Regions from separate parts of the Homo sapiens genome. Here region 2 is linked to region 1. Evidence: promoter capture Hi-C in 16 types of primary human blood cells and fetal thymus (Javierre and others, 2016). All regions are on one chromosome and are shown on one strand. The core of a region is centred on a gene start or on the middle of the fragment in contact, and the rest is flanking DNA. Distances in the headings are between cores, read along the strand shown. Region 1 holds the start of OR11L1 (olfactory receptor family 11 subfamily L member 1). Region 2 holds the start of OR2G3 (olfactory receptor family 2 subfamily G member 3).

Region 1 (7,571 bases), core at 3,790-6,289:
AGGACTACAGGTGCCCCCTACCACGCCTGGCTAAATTTGGTATTTTTAGTAGAGACAGGGTTTTACCATTTTGACCAAGCTTGTCTTGAATTCCTGACCTCAAGTGATCCACCCGCCTCGGCCTCCCAAAGTGCTGGGGTTACAGGCGTGAGCCACCGTGCCCGGCTGAATAAATAATCTATGTGAATAAATCAATCTATGTGGATCAAATAACAATTTTCTCACATCTCTTAGTTTTCGTTCAGTGTTTTCAAGCCAGAACTGCTGGAATATTTTGCCTTCAAACCAACATATACTTAACACTTTTATCTTGACTCTTATAAATTCTGAGAATGGCAGAAGAGTAGTTAGATCAGGCCTAAAGAAGAAGGTGTTATCTGAGCAGACTGGAAGGACATGAGAAATGAGCCATACAAAGCTGTTCAATGACAACGTTGCAGGGAACTAAACATGCTAAGGAGAAAACGAGGCACGTTTCAGGTAACTTGAAGAATACAAAGGAGGCGGAAGCACTGGGTGCAGAACGGACCAAGAAGAAAGTAGACTAAGAGTTTGGTGAGGCTGTGGGAGGAGAGAACAAGCAGGGCTGGGTAACCTGTCAAGGCTTTGTTTTTGTTTGTTGGTTGGTTGGTTTTTTGTTTTTGTTTCTTAAGCTTTATTGAAGAAATCAAGTACTATATAGTTCAATATATATGACACATTCAGTATTATACTCTTTTTAGCATGTGCAATAATGTTAAGATATTATTTTCTCTTGATATAATTATTTCCTGGCTACATGAAAATAATATTCCCAGTGACTTGGCCAAGAATGAGAGGAGAACGTAGAACAGAGCAGAAATAGTGAATTGCAACAGACATGAAGAACAGAAACAGCAAGTCAACAGAACGTCGATTCTGACAAAGCGGAAACTGCAGAGGTGAATATGTGGATTGTCTGGTCACAATGTTTTCTTCCTTTTCAGGAACAATTCACAGTACATCTGTGTTCACTGCAAAAACTCTCCCGTGTTTTAAAATATTCTCTTTGACTGCTTTCTTGAGTGGGGCAGGCTGGACGTGGAGGTGCTTTAACGAAACTATTGCAACAATCTAGATAAGAGATAGTGGTGCCTTTTCCAGGCAGCAAGCGATGGTGGTCGTAAATGGTGATCAGATCAGTTCTGAATACATTTTCAGGTGGAGCCAGTCAATTTTGCTGAAAAATTGGACATTGGGTTTGAAAGGAACAAGAGTCAAATTCAGAGTTTCTGGTCTGAGCAAGTGGGAGGATGGAGATGGGAAGGCTGCACTGAGGGAGGCTGGGGTAGTCAGGAGTGCTGGTCAGCTAAGTTAGGTCTCGTTAAATTGCAAATGCTGACTAGTCATGAGTGAGCATTTCACATAGGGCAGTTTTTACAGGACGCTTCTGTTCAAGCTTGAGACATAAATTTGAGGGCTGAGAGCAAAGTGACAGCATTCAAGTCAAGAGACTGCCTGAAACTGTGAAGGAAATGAAGGTAGATTGAAAGACACGAAGCCCTGTACAAGTGTGAAAAACCAGGGCTGTCGCTGATCTAAGAGAGTATGTAGTTGTGGATATTAAGTGACCAGTGGATCCAGGAAGAGGGAGGGATCAATGGTGCGATGATGCCACAGATGAAGAGGATCGGGAATGCGATGGGTGGTTGGAGGGCAATGCCAGCACAGCTGCGCCGTCTGGGGCAGTGGCAAGAAAAACATCCTGATCATAGTGCATTCCAGCGAGCAAGAAGGCAGAGGACGAGGAGCAGCAGGGAGGGACAGTGCCCTCCAGAAGGGAAAGCATCGGGAAAAGGGAGCAGAAAAGTGCAGGTAGTATTCAGAGAACAGCAAAGCCTCTAGACATTCTTCTCTGTTTTGTCTTTTTAAAGTGGGGGAGAGAAATCCAGCCCATTGACATGCTGAGGAAATGCTTTGGCAGAAAGGGCACCATGGGTGATTCAGGCATGAAGCTGAGAATACCCAGTGAAGGAGAGAAAAAAAGAATTTCTCTTCTCGACTTTCATTAAATTCACTGCTAGGACAGATTTTCATGAGCAAAACGCAGATCACCAAGAGAAAAACAAGCATGTTTATTTATGCATGTCATGCCCATCCACAAGAAAGAAAGCAGCTCTCTCAGGAAAACGGCTCACCTAGATTGTTGCGACGGTTTGGAAGCAGTGGCTTTGAGGCCTTGCTGAAATAGTATCTTAGCAAGGAGCCATACATCCTCTACGGTGACAAAACAAAAAAAACGGCATCTTCAGGCTTCCCAAAAGCAAGACATTTGGGAAGGAAAATTTACAGGAAGAGTAGTCTGTTCCGAGATCCCTGGCGTTGCTGTCTGAGCTGAGAAGCAAGCATTATAAAGGAGACTGTCTTCAGGTGGGAAGAGGCAGAGGGGAGGCAGGAAGACCTTTGTCTTTGTAAATCTTGGTCCTGCCTTCAGGAAAGCAGAGGAAGGGGCAGGTCCCCTGTGTGTTCGTCTTCTTCAGCTCAACACTCCTGAGTCTTTTGGATAGGAATAGTTTTGCCTCTGTCACCTGCAATACCTTTCCAGTGTGTAGGAGGTTATGGCGCCTAATGCCCAGGTGGAAGGATTTGCCTTAGACTTGGACACAGATAGTTTACTCAGAGGAAGTGTAGGGAGTAGGTGCACAGGAACAAAAGGTAGTCGATGGCAGAATTTAGTGGCCTGAGCTTGTGGATACTTCCACTGAAGGATTTCAGGATCTTCCAGTGAAATAAGTCTCTTACTGAGGGTACAGAGCAACAGGGATGTGCTAGACGTTCGAAAAGAGAGCAACATAAGTGAAATAGTCACTTAGGAGATTGGAAGAGTGAATAGATACGGGTATTGATAAAAACCAAAGTCTGTAACAAATATTTGAAGAGGTTTATTCTGAGCCAAATTTAAAGACCATGATCTGTGACAGTCCCAGGAGGTCCTGAGAATATGTGCTTAAGGTGGTTGTGTTACAGCTTGACTTTATCCATTTTAGGGAGACATAAGACATCAATCAGTACGTGTGAGCTATGCGTTGGTTTGGTCTGGAAAGGCAGGACAGCTCCAAGAATGGGGGAAGGTTACAGTCATACGTGGATGCAAAGACTTTTTGATTGGCAACTGGTTGAAAGAATTAAGTTATTGTCTGAAGACCTGGAATCAATAGAAAGGAGAATCTGGGTTAAGATAGGGGGGTTGGGGAAACCAAGGTTCTTATGATGTAGATGAAGTCTCATATGTTGCCAGCCTGAGAAGCAGCAGATGGGAAAAATGTTCTATTGAGACCTTTAAAAGGTGCTAGACTTTCAGCTAATCTCTTGAGGATCAGACAAAGGCCTGGAGAGGGAAAGGGATTCTCCGCAGAATGTAGATTTCCCCCACAAGAGACAGCTTTGCAGGGCCATTTTAAATATGACAAATAAATATATTTTGTGGTAAAATATTTCCATTTCCTTCAGGGTCGGCTGTCTGTCATGATGCTATACTAGAGTCAGGTTAGAATTTGGTAGCTTATTTCTACAGAGTCTGTTTCGTCAGCCTTAAAATCTCTTTTTTGATGTTATTGCTGCTCAGTTATGCCTGAATTCTGAAGAAAGGAGAGTGTAATGAGGTTTGTCCAACCCCCTCTTCCCATCATGATCTGAACCAGAATTTTTAGGTTTCTTTGAAATCCCCTTGGCTGAAAGGAGGAGTCCGCTCAGTCAGTTGTGGGGTTTAGAATTTTATTTTTGGTTTATAAGGGAAATACAGAATGATTGCTCTCCAGCAGTAAGGGCACACTGAGTTTGTTGGTTGTACATTTTAAAGAGGTTCTATTCTTGCTTGTCTCACTCCCTCAACTTCACAGAAGCTCCTGTATGGCAGGTGGATGTTTACTTTATCCAGAACTATAGACAATGAATTAAATGAAAGAATAAAAGGTGTACACGAGGGTGTAATTATAGTGGCTGAGCATGAGTATGGTATCGGATGAGGCAAGAAAGGACACCAGTGGAGTGAGGCAGATTAGTTCAGCACAGGCCTTCACACACACACACACACACACAAACACACACACACAAACACACACACACAGCAGGGACTAATAAATATTGTTTGAGGGTGGAATATATACACTTTCCCAAGATGGCATAGGAGATGTGCTGTGTCTGGCTTCTTTTTCAGACAAAGCCCACAGATGAGAAGGGAAAGGCATTTGCTTCCACATGTGCATGATTTTTTTTTTTTTTTTGAGACGGAGTCTCGCCCTGTCACCCAGGCTGGAATGCAGTGGTGCGATCTTGGCTCACTGCAATCTCCGCCTCCCGGATTCAAGCGATTCTCCAGCCCCAGCCTCCCACGTAGCTGGGATTACAGGCAGGCACCACTACACCCAGCTAATTTTTGTATTTTTAGTAGAGACGGGGTTTCACTGTGTTGCTCAGGCTGGTCTCGAACTCTTGACCTCGTGATACGCCCGCCTCGGCCTTCCAAAGTGCTGGTATTACAGGCGTGAGCCACTGCGCCCGGCCGTGCAGGATTTTTTTTAAAGCTTTGTTGTTATTGTTAGTTTTCTGAGTTTTTGTCCAGCTTTATTGAGGTGTAGTTGATAATTATTGTATACTATATATTTACAGTGTACAACTTTGTTCTCGTAGATGTATTCATTGTGAAATAATCATCACAATCAATCCAATTAACATATTCATCACCTCAATTTTTCTTTTTTGTATGGTGAGAACACTGAAGATCTACTAATAAGAGTCCTTTTTTGCCTGTCTTTGGAAGGAGACTTCAAGATTTCAGAGAACCCAGATGAATGAAACTTGCTGAGTCTCCTTACAAGATCTAATATTCACATTCAGCTTAAGATTTCAAAATGTATTCTTACGAAAGAGATATGGAATTATGCATTTATCCTTCTAAAAAGCTGTGCATACAGATCTAAACTATTTAAAAATTAATCTCTGAAGTTCCAAGCATCACCAGTGATAAATTTGCGCCTTGCATCCTGTGCTTTTCCAGAATGTTTTTCATCCCCCACAGGCAATGGAGCCCCAAAATACCTCCACTGTGACTAACTTTCAGCTGTTAGGATTCCAGAACCTTCTTGAATGGCAGGCCCTGCTCTTTGTCATTTTCCTGCTCATCTACTGCCTGACCATTATAGGGAATGTTGTCATCATCACCGTGGTGAGCCAGGGCCTGCGACTGCACTCCCCTATGTACATGTTCCTCCAGCATCTCTCCTTTCTGGAGGTCTGGTACACGTCCACCACTGTGCCCCTTCTCCTAGCCAACCTGCTGTCCTGGGGCCAAGCCATCTCCTTCTCTGCCTGCATGGCACAGCTCTACTTCTTCGTATTCCTCGGCGCCACCGAGTGCTTTCTCCTGGCCTTCATGGCCTATGACCGTTACCTGGCCATCTGCAGCCCACTCCGCTACCCCTTCCTCATGCATCGTGGGCTCTGTGCCAGGTTGGTGGTGGTCTCCTGGTGCACAGGGGTCAGCACAGGCTTTCTGCCTTCCCTGATGATTTCCAGGTTGGACTTCTGTGGGCGCAATCAGATTAACCATTTCTTCTGCGACCTCCCGCCACTCATGCAGCTCTCCTGTTCCAGAGTTTATATCACCGAGGTGACCATCTTCATCCTGTCAATTGCCGTGCTGTGCATTTGTTTTTTTCTGACACTGGGGCCCTATGTTTTCATTGTGTCCTCCATATTGAGAATCCCTTCCACCTCTGGCCGGAGAAAGACCTTTTCCACATGTGGCTCCCACCTGGCTGTTGTCACTCTCTACTACGGGACCATGATCTCCATGTATGTGTGTCCCAGTCCCCACCTGTTGCCTGAAATCAACAAGATCATTTCTGTCTTCTACACTGTGGTCACACCACTGCTGAACCCAGTTATCTACAGCTTGAGGAACAAAGACTTCAAAGAAGCTGTTAGAAAGGTCATGAGAAGGAAATGTGGTATTCTATGGAGTACAAGTAAAAGGAAGTTCCTTTATTAGGTAAAGAAAATTGCACAGAACATGCAGTGGATTAAATTCAGGGTTAAGTGAATGGTAGATTCAGACCTTTAAACCTGAAGATCATTGTCAGAACTGCATTGAATTCTGTAGGCCACAAAACAACAGCTTTTTGAGGGTTCCTCACTAGCAACTGGTCAGAAGATAAACTGCCTCCATCAAACCATTTTGAGGTCAGTTTTGTCCTAGACACTTTCTAACATCTTGTTAGGAAAATCTGATTGAATTCCAGTGGATGGTGATTACACACACATTACTTTCACATTCTACAATAAGATTTCCCTTTGTTTACATAACCTTATGTACAGAAAGCTCTGCATCTTTTAAGTACTCTTAGTAGACTGGCCTTGTGGACCTAAAACCTGGTGGGTGCCATTGGTGCTTATTAAATAGCAGTAGAAAGAATAAATAAAAAAAAGAAGACATTTAAAATGTTTGTTGACCTACATTATCTCCTAAAGATAAGAAAGAAGTAAGGCCTTTGAAGTGCCAAATATTCATCTACAAGACCTTAGATGTTTTAGTGTTTTTTGTTTAATGAAATTGTGGGAAGGAAGGGAGGGAGGGAGGGAGGGAGGAAAGGAGGGAAGGGAGGGAGGGAGGAAGGAGAAGATCCTCAGTATTCTGTGCTACTGTGAGTCCTGAGAGTCAGAGGATGTCACTAAAATGTTTAAATCACTTTTTATTTTCTTGAGACAGAGTCTCACTCTGTCGCCCAGGCTGGAGTGCAATGGCACGATTTTGGCTCACTGCAACCTCCACCTCCCAGGTTCAAGCGATTCTCCTGCTTCAGCCTCCTGAGTAGCTGGGAATACAGGCATGCACCACCAGGCCCAGCTAATTTTTGTATTTTTTTTTTTTTTAGTAGAGATAGAGTTTCACCCTGTTGGTCAGGCAGGTCTTGAACTCCTGACCTCAAGCTCCACCCGCCTCGGCCTCTCAAAGTGCTGGGATTACAGGGGTGAGCCACCGCGCCCAGGCTCTTAAATCACTTTTATAGTTTATTTTATTCAGCCAGTTTAGAAGATCTCTACAAATCCTGCCCATTGTTTGATTCATTAATTCTACAAATATTTTTAATCTCATGAAGCATGCCACGTCCTGTGCCACAGTCTGAATTTCCCGGAAAGACAATGACATAGAAAGGACCAAGCAAGCCAGGCACAGTGGCTCACGCCTGTAATTCCAGCACTTTGGGAGGCCAAGGTGGGCGGTCACCTGAGGTCGGGAGTTCGAGACCAGCCTGGCCAACATGGAAAAACCCCGTCTCTACTAAAAATACAAAATTAGCCGGGCAAGGGGCATGCCTGTTATCCCAGCTACTAGGGAGGCTGAGGCAGCAGAATCACTTGAACCCAGGAGGCAGAGGTTGCTGTGAGCTGAGATCATGCCATTGCACTCCAGCCTGGGCAACAAGAATGAAACTCCATCTCAAAAAAAAAAAAAAAAAGAAAAAAGAAAGAAAGGGCCAAGCAAGACTTTACCTTAATAGACCTTCCAATGCAGAAGGGAGGAGAAAAATGTAACAAATCATAAAGCAATGATT
Region 2 (7,571 bases), core at 3,182-5,681, 240 kb after region 1:
AGGTATACATGTGCCTGGTGGTTTGCTGTGCCTATCAACCCATCATCTAGGTTTTAAGCCCCACATGCATTATGTATTTGTCTTAATGCTCTCCTTCCCCTTACCCTCCATGCCTCCGACAGGCCCCGTTGTGTGATGTTCCCCTCCCTGTGTTCATGTGTTCTCATTGCTCAACTCCCACTTATGAGTGAGAACATGTGGTGTTTGGTTTTCTGTTCCTGTGTTAGTTTGCTGAGAATGATGGCTTCCAGCTTCCCCCTTGTCCCTGCAAAGGACATGAAGTCCTTCTTTTTTATGGCTACATAGTATTCCATGGTGCTATACCCAGTTTTTTGAGGGCTCTTACCATGAAGGATTATTGAATTTTATCAAATGTTTATTCAGCATCATTTGAAGTGATCACATGGGTTTTTGTTCTTCATTCTACTGATACGATATATCACAGTGATTTATTTGCATATGCTGAACCATCCTTGCATCCCTTGGATAAACCCCACTTGGTCATGATTAATAATCTTTCTTTCTAATGTATTGTTGAATTTTGTTTGCTAGAATTTTGTTAGGACTTTTGCATCAATAACATAAGAGATATTGGCCTGTGGTGTTCCTTTTCTGATGTGTCTTTGTCTGGTTTTGGTATCAGTGTAATACTGGCCTCATGGAATAAGTTTGGAAGTACTCCCTCCTCCTCTATTTGTTGGAATAGTTTGAGTAGGATTGCTGTTAGTCCTTCTTTAAATGTTTGGTAGAATTCAGCAATGAAGCCACTGGGTCCTAAAGCTTTTCTACACTGGGAGACTGTTTATTACAGCTTTGACCTCGTTACTGGTTATTGGCTTGTTCAGGTTTTGAATTTCCTTAGGGTTCAATCTTGGTAGGTTGTTTAGGTGTCTAGAAATTTGTTCATTTCTTCTAGATTTTCCAATTTAATAGCATATAGTTGCTCATTGTAGCCACTAATGAACCTTTGAATTTCTGCAGCATCAATTATAATGTCTCTTTTTATTCTGATTTTGTTTATTCAGACATTCTCCTTTTTTTCTCAGTCTGGCTAAAGTTTCATAAATTTTGTCTAACTTTTCAAAAAACCAACTTTCTTTTATTGACCTTTTTAATTTCAATTTCATTTATTTCTGCTCTGATCTTTTTATTTCTTTTCTTCTACAGATTTTAGGTTTGGTTTGCTCTTGCTTTTCTAGTTCTTCAAAATGCATCATTAGATTGTTTATTTGAAAGTTTTCCTCTTTTTTGATGTAGGCTTTTATGGATATAAACTTTCCTCTTAGTACTGGTTTTGCTGTATCCCATAGGTTTTGATATGTTGTGTTTTCATTATCATTTATTTCAAGAAACTTTTCAATTTCCATCTTAATTTCTTCATTGATCCACTGGTCATTCAGGAGCATATTATTTAATTTCCATGTGTTTTTATAGTTTCCAAAATTCCTCTTGTTATTAATTTCTAGTTTCATTCCACTGTGGTCAGAGAAGATGCTTGATATTATTTCAATTTTTGGGGTGTTTTAAGACTTGTTTTGTGACCTAACATATGGTCTATCCTTGAGAATGATCCATGTGCTGAGGAAAAGCATGTGTATTCTGCAGCTCTTGGATGAAATGTTCTGTAAATGTCTATTAGGTACATTTGGTCTGTAGTGCAGATTAAGTCCAATGTTTGTTTGTTGATTTTCTGTCTGGAATATCTGTCCAATGCTGAAAGTGGGGTGTTGAAGTCTCCAGCTATTGTTGTATTGGAGCCTACCTATCTCTCTCTTTAACTCTAATAATAGTTGCTTTATATAATCTGTGTGCTTCAATGTCAGGTACATATATGTTTACAATTGTTATATACTCTTGCTGAATTGACCCCTTTGCAACAATATGAATGAACCTGGAGGACATTATGCTAAATAAAAAAGCTAGTCAGAGAAGGGCAAGTAGTGTGTGGTTTCACTTATATTAAATATTTAAAATAGTTACCATCATAGAAGTAGAGAATAGAATGATGGTTACTAGGGGATGAGAGACAAGAACATGGGGAGTTTTTGTTCAATAAGTACAAAGTTTCATTTATGCAAGATGAATAAGTTATAAGAGATCTATTATAAAGCATAGTGCTTATAGTTTACAGTGCAGTATTGTGCACTGAAAAATTTGTTAAAAGTGTTGATCATATGTTGTGTTATAACAAGCACAAATAAGAAGCACAAGGAAACTTCTAGATGTAATGGTTATGTGTATTACTTTGTGGTGATATTTTCAAGGGTGTATGTATATATCATACTCATCAAATTTTTTTTCTTTTTTTTTCTTTTTTTTTTTTTTTTTTTGAGACAGAGTCTCGCTCTGTCGCCCAGGCTGGAGTGCAGTGCGCGATCTTGGCTTACTGAAAGCTCTGCATCCCGGGTTCACGCCATTCTTCTGTCTCAGCCTCCCGAGTAGCTGGGACTACAGGCACCTGCCACCAAGCCCAGCTAATTTTTTTTTATTTTTTTTTTAGTAGAGACGGGGTTTCACCGTGTTAGTCAGGATGGTCTCGATCTCCTGACCTCGTGATCCGCCCGCCTCAGCCTCCCAAAGTGCTGGGATTACAGGTGTGAGCCACCGCGCCTAGCCCATACTCCTCAAATTTTATACATTAAATATGTATATCAATTATACCTCAATGAAGCTGTATTTTTAAAAAAAGAAAATAATAATGTCTTTTGAAGTCCAATTATTCTCATTGATTGAATGTATGAAAAGGTATAGAAGAAAATTATTTGATTATTTTATTCTTTCAAAAGTCTTGTACCTACCATGTATAAAGTGACCTCAGTTCTCACTTCTGCAACTCATATACTAACATTGAAATAATACAGAGAAGATGAGCATGGCTCCTGCACAAGGATAAAGTGGCCTCAGAACACAAAAAGAGATGCACACTCTAAGTTATGAAAAATAATGTGTTTAGCGTATTTTGTTCTTGTTACCCCTTATAAATTCTTAAAATGTATTTGGAACGGTTATTTAAAAATAGCTTATGCAATATCCTACTGACCAATAAATTTGAACTACGAGCACATGCAGGAATTGCTTATTTTCAACATAAAGCTATAATGAAGGACATTACGATGTAAATGTAAAGTGTTTGGCAGGAAACTGAACATTTTATTAAAACTGAAGAAAAGTCTCCTAACCTAGATAAATACATGGTAAATACTTAATAATTTATTTTTCTGAATCCCTGGGAATAAGTATCAGACATAAAATAGAGGCTTTGTGGTGAGGATCACAATTTACAACCATCCACAGCTCTCTTTTCAATAGTTTATGCTCTCAAATAAACATATAAACATTTTACTTAGTTACACATAAAAAAGGAAAAAGTCCCTTATGAAGAGAAAATAAGTGAGCAGTAATATAGTTCATGTGAAATTTAGAACTATGGGTTTGACTAAATAGAAGCTGAATAAGCTACCTGGCTTATAATGAATTCCTTGCAAATCATGTCCATAGGAATCACAATTTTCCCGAGAGAAGTTTCCTCAGAGCCTCTTTCATATCCTTGTTCCTTAAAGTATAGATGATAGGATTTAAAGTGGGGGTCACCATGGTGTAGAAGAGGGAGATAAACTTCCCTTGGTCCTGGGCATAGCTGTCACTAGGTTGCAGGTACACGTAGATTATGGTGCCATAGAATATAATCACCACTGTAAGGTGGGAGGAGCAGGTGCTGAAGGCTTTGTGCCTTGCCTCTACTGATTTGATCCTCAGCACAGCTTGAGTTATGAAGCCATAGGAGATGGAGATGAGTGCTGGTGGAATGACAACAAACAGAACACTAACAACAAAAAGCACCAATTCATTGACAGTGGTGTCCACACAAGCCAACTTGAGAAGAGCTGGTACTTCGCAAATAAAATGGTCCAGCCTATGGTTGCCACAGAGAGGCAATTGCAAGGTAAAAGTTGCATGGATTAGGGAACTAGCCAAACCACTGAGCCAGGAGATAGATGCCAGCTGTTGGCAAAGCCGTGGGTTCATGATGACTACATAGTGGAGGGGTTTGCAGACAGCAATGTACCGATCCAAGGCCATGTCAGCCAAGAGGATACATTCAGTGGAGCCCAGTGCCAGAGAAATATAGAGTTGCGCCACACAACCACCGTAAGTGATCGTCTTCTTTGGTCTTTGCAAGTTAACTAAGGTCTGAGGAGCAAGGCTAGTAGTGAAGCAGATGTCCAGTAAAGAGAGGTTGCTGAGAAAAAAGTACATTGGGGTATGAAGAGGGGGATCCAGATATGAGATGATGATTATGGTGAAGTTTCCCACAAGGGTCAGGAGGTAGAAGAAAAGGACAAATACAAAGAGAACAGCCTCCAGACGAGGGTGGTCTGAGAAGCCTAGAAGGATGAAATCCATTAGGGAACTCTCATTGCCCAATCCCATCCCTCCAGGGGGATCCGCACCTAAGGCAGGAATGGAATGGGTACATCCAAAACAATTAAATTTAGAATAACAGAACACATGAGCTGAGAGGATCATGGAGACCAACTTTCCCAAACTATTCATTTTTCACCCTAAACTATTCATTTTTCACTAATGTGCTGCTGACTTGGAACATCAATCCATGTTTCTTCATTCCAGTTCAAAGGCTCATCTTTAAAAATTATGAATGATTACAACTTTGGAGTTGTCTGGGGATTGATTATTAAAGCCAATCAAAGTGCATATTTACATGCATATCAAAAAATCCACAATGACCTACCACTAAAAATAAATTTCTCTCAAAATACGGTGAACAGTATCTCCCTGATTTTCAACTGTCAATAAATTATCTGCATATGAAATACCTTACTCAGATTTGATTGTAAGCACAATCAGATGGGGAAGACTTTTTAGATAAAACTAATTAAAACAAAGACTTTAAAACCTTTAAAATGGGTATGATTGGTATGAAGGAGATAGAAAATCATTTTTGATATGTGTCACATTGGTACTAACTGGTGGAAAATGAAAAGACATATTTAAGGAACCAAAATATATGATATAAATTCAAATCATCTCATAAAAGTTTATTCAATGATTGAACTGCCAAAAAATAAAAATTAGTTTTAAAATTTTTTATTTATTTAGGCATTATTTAACCAAGTTGGCTAATAGTCCTTACTAGTGAAGAAAAATACATATACTCAAAGGAATATATATAATTATAAGAGTTAAAGATGCATTGCAGTATTCTTATAAATATAAAATTTGTTTGAAGGAACCCTGAGATAAATATATTAAAACTCCCTAACGTTTTGGCCAGATGCTGTGGCTCACCCCTTTAATCCCAGCACTTTGACAGGCTGAGTCACGTGGATCACTTGAGGTCAGGAGTTCGAGACCAGCCTGACCAACTTGGTGAAACCCCATCTGTAATAAAATACAAAAATTAGCCAAGTGTGGTGGTGTACACCTGTAGTCCCAGCTACTCAGGAGGCCGAGACAGGAGAATTGCTTGAACCTGGGAGGTGGACGGTTGCAGTGAGTCAAGATCGCACCACTGCACTCCAGCCTGGGAGACAAAGTGAGTGAGATTCCATCTCAAAAAATAAAAATAAAAATAAATAAAATTCCTTAACTTTCAAAATGTCAAAAACACAAAACAAATTATAAACAAAAATGAAAGTAATTTATGAGACTGTTGAAGAAAACTCAAAGTCATCTGGAGAATGTCGGAAGAGAATGTGTGAATGATTCACTTGTCTTTGTAAGAAGATTCAAAAAGAAATATTTTGCAAATTATGCATCTGACAAAGGACTAATATCCAGAATCTACAAGGAACTCAAGCAAATCAGCAAGAAAAAACAAATAATCCTATCAAAAAGTGGGCAAATGACATGAATAGACATTTCTCAAAAGAAGATATACAAATGACCAACAAACAAATTTTTTAAATGTTTAACATCACTAATAATCAGGGAAATGCAAATTAAAACCACAATGAGATTCTACCCTACCCCAGCCAGAATGGCCACTATTATAAAGTCAAAAAACAATAGATGTTGGCGTGGATGTGGTAAAAAGGGAATGCTTATCCACTGCTGGTGGGAATGTAAATTAGTATAACCTCTATAGAAAACAGTATGGAGATTTTTCAAAAAAACAAAAGTAGATCTAAAATTCAATCCAGCAATCCCACTACTGGGTATCTACCCAAAGGAAAAGAAGTCATTATATCAAAAAGACATGCACATGTGTATGTTTATCGCAGCTCAATTCACAATTGCAAGGATCTGTAACCAACCTAAGTGCCCATAAACCGATGAGAGGATAAAGTAAATGGGTTATACATCATGGAATACTACTAAACCATGAAAAAAATGAAATAATGCCTCTCAGCAACTTGGATGGAGCTGGAGGTCACTATTCTAAGTGAAGTAACTCAGAAATGGCAAATATTGTATGTGCTCACTTACAGGTGGGAGCTAAGCTATGGGTATGCACAGGCACACACAGTGGTATAATGGACATTGGGAACTGAAAAGGTGAGAGAGTGGGAGGGGAGTAGGGGATTTAAAAAACTACATATTAGGTGCAGTGTACACTACTCAGGTGATAGGTGCGCTAAAATCTCAGACTTCACCACTAGGCAGTTCATCCAGGTAACCAAAAACTACTTGTACCCTCAAAGCTATTGAAATTTTAAAATATAGTTTTTTGTTTGTTTTGTTTTTATTTCTTTACTTATTCATTTATTTTTAATCGACAAATTAAAATTGTATATAATGATCATGTACAACAAGATAAATACTGTTTTTTAAAAAAATATAGTTTTTTTCTGGGCCTTTTTCACATAATATGCTCCAAAATATGAGGTAGGTAGTAGTGTTCTAATTCTACAGATGAAAAATGTTTAAAATACGTGCCCCAAATTACTCAATTTTAAGTTTATGGGGCTGGATAAAGCCCAACCCAGAGTTAGGCTTAATATTTCCCTAAAGGCAGCTCATATACTTGACTCCATAAGCACCTTTGGCACCTAGGACACGTGTATTTAATTTTCTTGTGCAAAAGGGTAAATGGAGTTACCTGTGGCCACTCCAACTGTCTTTCCACCACTTCAGCCAGCTAAAGTTACTGCTGTGTCCTCAGGACCTATCAAAGGGCCTGACCCACAGCTGGGCTCAGTGAATACTATGGAATGAATGAGTCAGTATTTAATCAAAAGCTGATCACATAATACCACTATTATTATGGATTTTTTTATTATTCTTTAAGTTCTAGGGTACATGTGCACAAAGTGCAGGTTTGTTACATAGGTATACATGTGCCATGTTGGTTTGCTGCACCTATCAACTCGTCATTTACATTAGGTATTTCTCCTAACGCTATCCCTCCCCCAGTCCCCCATCCCACAACAGGCCCCTGTGTGTGATGTTCCCTTCTCTGTGTCCATGTGTTCTCATTGTTCAATTCCCACTTATGAGTGAGAACATGCGGTGTTTGGTTTTCTGACCTTGTGATAGTTTGCTGAGAATGATGGTTTCCAGCTTCATCCATGTCCCTGCAAAGGACATGAACTCATCCTTTTTTATAGCTG

What was found. The method cuts DNA at HindIII sites, captures the fragments that hold promoters and counts their contacts. A CHiCAGO score of 5 or more calls a contact.
Region 2: the fragment with the promoter of OR2G3 here is called in contact with the fragment with the promoter of OR11L1 in region 1 in 3 of 17 cell types (naive CD8 T cells, erythroblasts and total B cells); the score reaches 6.5 in naive CD8 T cells.

Annotation. Positions count from the first base shown.
Region 1 is chr1:247,839,364-247,846,934 of GRCh38, reverse strand. It overlaps OR11L1 (olfactory receptor family 11 subfamily L member 1), which reads left to right and starts at 5,039. Exons shown (of 1, transcript NM_001001959.1): 1 at 5,039-6,007. The coding sequence starts at 5,039. The coding sequence ends at 6,007. The HindIII fragment of the contact is 3,435 bases long and covers 4,544-7,571 here.
Region 2 is chr1:247,602,446-247,610,016 of GRCh38, reverse strand. It overlaps OR2G3 (olfactory receptor family 2 subfamily G member 3), which reads right to left and starts at 4,431. Exons shown (of 1, transcript NM_001001914.1): 1 at 3,502-4,431. The coding sequence starts at 4,431. The coding sequence ends at 3,502. The region is part of intron 2 of LOC102724446 (a long non-coding RNA gene); the gene reads left to right. It also overlaps the pseudogene LOC124904709. The HindIII fragment of the contact is 9,716 bases long and covers 783-7,571 here.